Regions from separate parts of the Homo sapiens genome. Here region 1 is linked to region 2. The links are contacts of gene promoters, found by promoter capture Hi-C in blood cells and fetal thymus (Javierre and others, 2016). All regions are on one chromosome and are shown on one strand. The core of a region is centred on a gene start or on the middle of the fragment in contact, and the rest is flanking DNA. Distances in the headings are between cores, read along the strand shown.

Region 1 (2,700 bases), core at 155-2,654, 580 kb after region 2:
GCTGATGGAGCTGTCCAGGGTCCTGACGTGCAGCCCACTTGGGGATGTGCAGACCCCTGCCCCAGGATACCTAAGGTTTCTCCTGGTTTTCACTTGCCCAGAGCCAGCAGTGGTTTTTGCTTCAGCCTTTATCTGACTGGTGCATGGAAGAGCAGTTTTCTTCCTAGTGGGGACACTAGGTTCACGGCAAAGGGGAGGTCCCTTTAGATTTCCTTCATTACGTTTCTTCTTTATTCGAAAGTGAACTTGTAGCCAGGTATGGTGGCTCGCACCTATAATTCCAGCCCTTTGGGAGGCCGAGGCAGGAGGATTTCTTGAGGCCAGGTGTTTGAGACCAGCCTGGACAACATAGCAAGACCCCATCTCTAACTATTTCTAAAATAAATGTAAATTTTTTTTCTTTTTCTTTATTTTATTTTATTTTTTTGAGACAAAGTCTCACTCTGTTGCTCAGGCTGTAGTGCAGTGGTGTGATCTCAGCTCACTGCAATCTCTGCCTCCTGGGTTCAAGTAATTTTCATGTCTCAGCCTACTGAGTAGCTGGGATAACAGGCATGCACCACCACACCCAGCTAATTTTTTTGTATTTTTAGTAGAGATCGGGTTTCACTATATTGGCCAGGCTAGTCTCGAACTCCCGGACTCAAGTGATCAGCCCATCTCAGCCTCCCAAGTGCTGGGATGACAGGCATGAGCCACCGTGCCCGGCAGTAAATTTTTAAAAATGTTAAAGTGAGCTTGTGGGGATAGGTCTAATCTTTGCCTGATAAGCTGCCGTAAGTCTAAGGGTTGGGAATAGCTTATGGCAAACTCAGGCTCTACTTAAGATGTTACTGATCTCTCTTACTCTCCACAAGGCAATTTTTCCTTTCAAAGGAGGAAGTTGCAGGCAGGTTGGCTTTATGGACACATGTAAACAGGAAATCAGGAGACTCGCCCAGCCCCAGGCTTTGTCTAGAAGGAACTTTTCCTCTAGTTAATGCCAAGGGCTCTAGCTCAGCGAGCATTAGAGTGGGACAGCCCCAGAAGCTTAGGCTCAGAGTCCAGAGGTCCAGGAGACAGTGTCCCCCTGTCCAGTCCTCACAGGTAAAATGGAACAGGACCACAGCCCACTGCCCTCCGAGGCTGTGGGGACAGTGCCAGTGGGAGGTCATGGCCTCAGGGGCTGCAACCTCAACAAGCACATGGCCTTCCATCTTCCCCCCGACTGGCAGGATCCCTTTTGGAAGTGGCTTCTCAGCCCCACTCTTGGCCAAATCTGGCATGACTCATTTGCTTTAGAAAAGGAATATATAAGCACCGTCACACCTTGATGAGATGACAGGAGTGACAAGCAGAGTGATTTCCCATATCTGAGACTCTGAGGAGGAGAGGTGGTTTAGCAGAGCCAGCTGCCATAACCAGAAGAAAATAATTAAGGAAATCTGGCAGAGTAGAGGAAAACCAAGTGGTGCAGCGGGTCCCTTCTAGTGAAGGGAGCTGTCATCATCGGCTGCGGGAGAGAAAGGAGCTCTGGAGGCTCGTGCTGGGACAGCTGCAGTAATGATGGGATGGGGAAGAGGAGGGGGTGGCTGTCAAGGAGGGAAATAGACTCTGGGCATGGCAGGGGGTGGCAATGAGCAGCTTGATTCTAAAGACTCCTCTCTCAGGCCAGGCACCTGCTACTTACACCCCACACCCTGAAGGGTGCAGCCAGGTCTACTTGGAGCTTCCCCTCAGTCTCCAGGGAAGAGTCTAGAAGGCCTGTTTCAAAGATCCCCCACATGCACGCATGTGCACATAAGCTTGGGAGTGCCCAGGAAGATGGGGACACTCTGCCCTTTGCCCAGGGGAGAGCATACCCTTGTTCCCAGCCCAAAGGGACAAGCGGAAGAAAGATGAAATGTGTCCCAGTTCTGCCTGCATTTCTGCCTCTCTTGGGACTTGAGGAAGGTTCGGGCAAGCTCAGGGAATTCAGGCTGTCCATTCCAGGGCTGACCTTGCATCTCCTTCCTGGCCTGCTAATGACTGAAGGAGACGTGCGGGCACGGCCTCAGCCTTACATTGTCTGGGGCATGGCAGTGGCTGAGTCTGTAAAACTGGACCTCATGGAGAAATCCACAGAATCTCTGGCTCAGGGAAGACCTGGAGATCCCTTCACCAGCTGGGCTCCTGCCACTGGACCTCTGCCCAGGACGTGGAGACAGCCAGGAAAGTGGTGGGACACTGGAACCCCCCTCCCGCAGGCAGCAGCCAGGATTTGCTCAGGTGTGGTCGGGCATGGTGCCCCGGCGCGCCAGCCAGAAGATCCAGCTCTCTCCTTAAGGGATAGCTGGCTCTGATGGTGACCATGGCTTTTGGCAGAGCCTCAGGACGAAAATGTCCACCCACATGGTACTGGAGCAGAAAGAGCCCCTGATTCCTCGGTGGCCAGGTAGGGACTGGGGAAGGAGGCTCCAGCTTCTAAATAGATTCCCCCCAAAGGGAATCTCCTTGTCCTCCTGCGACTTTCCCCCAAAGCAGACCAAATGAGGTATGACACAGAATATTCTGCTCTGGCCAAAGGTTCACCTCACCAGAGCTTGCTTCTTAGGTGAGCCCAGCCCAGGCATGGGCCTCCTTGGTAGGCAGAGGGGGCGTTCCAGAGCATGGCCATTGATGCACTGGTCTCTCTGTGTCTTCCTGAGGTCATCAGTAAGTTAACGCTGGACAATTACCCTC
Region 2 (2,700 bases), core at 60-2,559:
GCACTCTAGCCTGGGTGAAAAAGTGAGACTGTCTCTAAAAAAACTAAGAAGCAGCAGCAGCAGCAGCAACAACAACAACAACAACAACAAACGAACAAACCGCAGATCCACCCTACCATTGCCCCTGCCTCTGTTGAGCATTTTTGCCATGCGTAAATAAATGCCTGCTCATCCGCAGTCAGCAGTCTGAGGAAATTCTGAAACCAAATTACACATAGGCTAGTGCTCTATGCCATCAATCTGTAATGTATCTTGTTATTTGATTTTTACGTCCTTTAATACATTTCCTAAGAAGTCTGCTTTGGAAAAATCACCAAAGGAATTAGAAGAGAGAGAATAAGAAAACCCAGAAAAACTAAAAGGATTTTTCTTCCCCCCATTTTTTATTAAAATCCAATCAACCTGCACAGTGCGAGTGAGTGAGTGACTGTCTACGCTTTCACTAACGGACCATCAGTTTCTCTCAACCTTCTCTCCATAAACGGAGAATATCAAATGAGGGTCTGGGGGTGTTAGAAAAGGGTTGGGAGCCTCAGCTCAGGTTGGTGGGCCCGCTGTGCCATGGAGCCTTTGGGGACCTCTGATTTCACATCCGTCTTGGCCCTAAATGGCCTTCTCAAACCTTCCCCCTGTCTCTCCTGGTTCTTGCCTCATTGGACTCAACCTCTTGGTGGGCAGCTCTCCAGAGGGCACCCCCAGCCTAAGAAGCAGGCCTCCTCCCAAGTCCCCAGCCTCACGAGGATAGTGGGTAACAGGGTGGGCTCAGGGGGCCCTGGGAGATCTCCAGAGGCCTCTGGTGTGTTCACCAATGTCCCCTGACAGGTCTTGCTTGGCACAGGGGGTTCCTCTTAGAGACGTGACAGGGCACTTGGACTGTGGCAAATGAAAGAAGCGGAGGGGCAGGAACAGGGACACCTTGCGAAGAAGACAGGCCTTAGCCTTGTGCCACCCCTATGAGGTCCCTAAGCCGTCCTCTCTCTCCCACCTTTTCCCAGTCCTCGCTCCCCGGTCCTCCTCAGCACAGCCGGCTCCAGGAGGGATCAATTCGTGGGCCCGGGAGGAGGCCAGGCGAGCACCGGCTGCCTGGAGCACTGGGCTGGAGCGCGGGGAGCGCGGCGGGGGGCGCGGGCGGGGCGGGGCTGGTGCGCAGAGCTGTCCAGCACCCCGAGGCGGGGCGTGCGCCCCCGGCCCGCCCCAGCCGCCTCCGCCCGCCCAGCCAGCGCCACTGCGGCTCGGCGGGCGCGTCACGTGGCTGGCGCAGCGCGGCCTCCAGGCTCCGGGCGCGGGCGAGGGGCCGGGCGGGAGGACTGACAGACCCACGGACGCTCTACCGGCGGCACCCGGCCGGGCGGGCTGGGCGCAGCGCGGGGCGGCCCGGGGACGCCGGGGCCGGGCGGGCTGCGCGCCGCGGGGCATGGGCGCGCCGGGGGTCCCCGGGCCCAGGCCGGCCGCGGCGGGGCTCCCGGGGCGCGGGGGCAGCGGCGGGCGGGGGTCTTCCCTGGCGGCCGCCGCTGAGCCCCCGCAGGGCCCGTGACGCCGCGGCCGATGTGGCCGCGCGCGCCCTACGGGCCTGCACCGCCACCGCACAAAGACGCCTCGGGAGCCGCCGCCTGCACCCGGGCCGCAGCAGCCACGCCAGCCGGAGCCCGAGCCCTAGCCCGAGCCCGAGCCCGAGCCGCAGCCAGAGCCAGAGCCGGAGCCGCAGCCGGAACCGGAGCCGGAGCCGCGGGGCAGGAGGCGGCGCCCGCGGGCGGCCGGGCCCGGCATGGAGAAGCGCGCGGCCGCGGGGCTGGAGGGCGCGCCGGGCGCCCGGGCGCAGCTGGCCGTCGTCTGTCTGGGTGAGTGGGCCGCGCGGGCCGGGCAGGTCCGGGTCCCCCGCATGGCAGTCCGCGCCGCGCCCTGACCGACCTCCTCTCCGGCCGCGGCATCCCGAGCCCCCCACCGCGGTGGCTCCCGCGCGGAGACCCAGAGAGGGGCCAGCACCGCTTGCCCGCCTGGCCCCGGGCCTGGGAGGGCGACTCTGGTGGCGCAGCCCCGGCTCCCGCCCCGCTCGGAGTAGCGCCCGGAGCCCGGGCTGAGCGCTGGCAGGAGGCCCTTCGTGCAGGCGGCAGCCTTCAACCCGGCCCGCCCGCGCTGAGCCTGGAGACGAGGGGGCCCCGGGAGCTGGGGACAAAGGCCAGGCCGGCTGTCCCCTGAAGAAGAAACTGTTTCCGGCCCGGAGTTGGGGTGGGGGCTGGTGTAAGCCGCAGATGGGGACTCGGGGTGCGGGGCAGGGCTGGAGGAGGGTGCCAGTGTGGAGGCGGCTTCCAGGGGACTCCTGTTTTCCCTTTGTGTCTCTCAGCCCCCAGGCAGGCCTGTTCAGTTTAGGAGGGTGCTTGGGTTGGGCCAGGGACCGGTCAAGGCCAGGCATGGGGTGGGAGGGGCTCCCGCCCTGTCCGGGAGTTTTTCTGTCCAGCTTTCCAGCGCTCTGTGTAGGCGAGAGGAGGAGTTAAATCCCCAACCCACATGGCTCCTTTATTTACTGTGATGAAGGAGGGAGGCCATTATAAGAACTGGGGGTCATTAGGGGACACCCTGTGATGTCACCAGTGAGGGCTCTGTAACCTGACAGGTTTGCTGAAGCCACTGAAATGACAAAGTAATCACCCCCAGGCCTCAGGGAGCTCCGAGGCTCTGGCAGGCCCTTGCCCCAGCTGTGTG

Evidence for each region. Contacts are between HindIII fragments. The CHiCAGO score rates a contact against its expected background, and 5 or more counts as called.
Region 1: a contact is called between a fragment that was not itself captured here and the fragment with the promoter of LRP3 in region 2, in 1 of 17 cell types (M2 macrophages). The highest score is 5.7, in M2 macrophages.

What each region holds. Positions count from the first base shown.
Region 1 is chr19:33,768,043-33,770,742 of GRCh38, forward strand. All of the region lies in intron 3 of CHST8 (carbohydrate sulfotransferase 8), which reads left to right. Among named protein-coding and RNA genes, the nearest start is that of KCTD15, 27 kb to the right of the region's middle. The HindIII fragment of the contact is 755 bases long and covers 1,028-1,782 here.
Region 2 is chr19:33,193,021-33,195,720 of GRCh38, forward strand. LRP3 (LDL receptor related protein 3) reads left to right here and starts at 1,310. Exons shown (of 7, transcript NM_002333.4): 1 at 1,310-1,838. The coding sequence starts at 1,766. The HindIII fragment of the contact is 39,491 bases long and covers 1-2,700 here.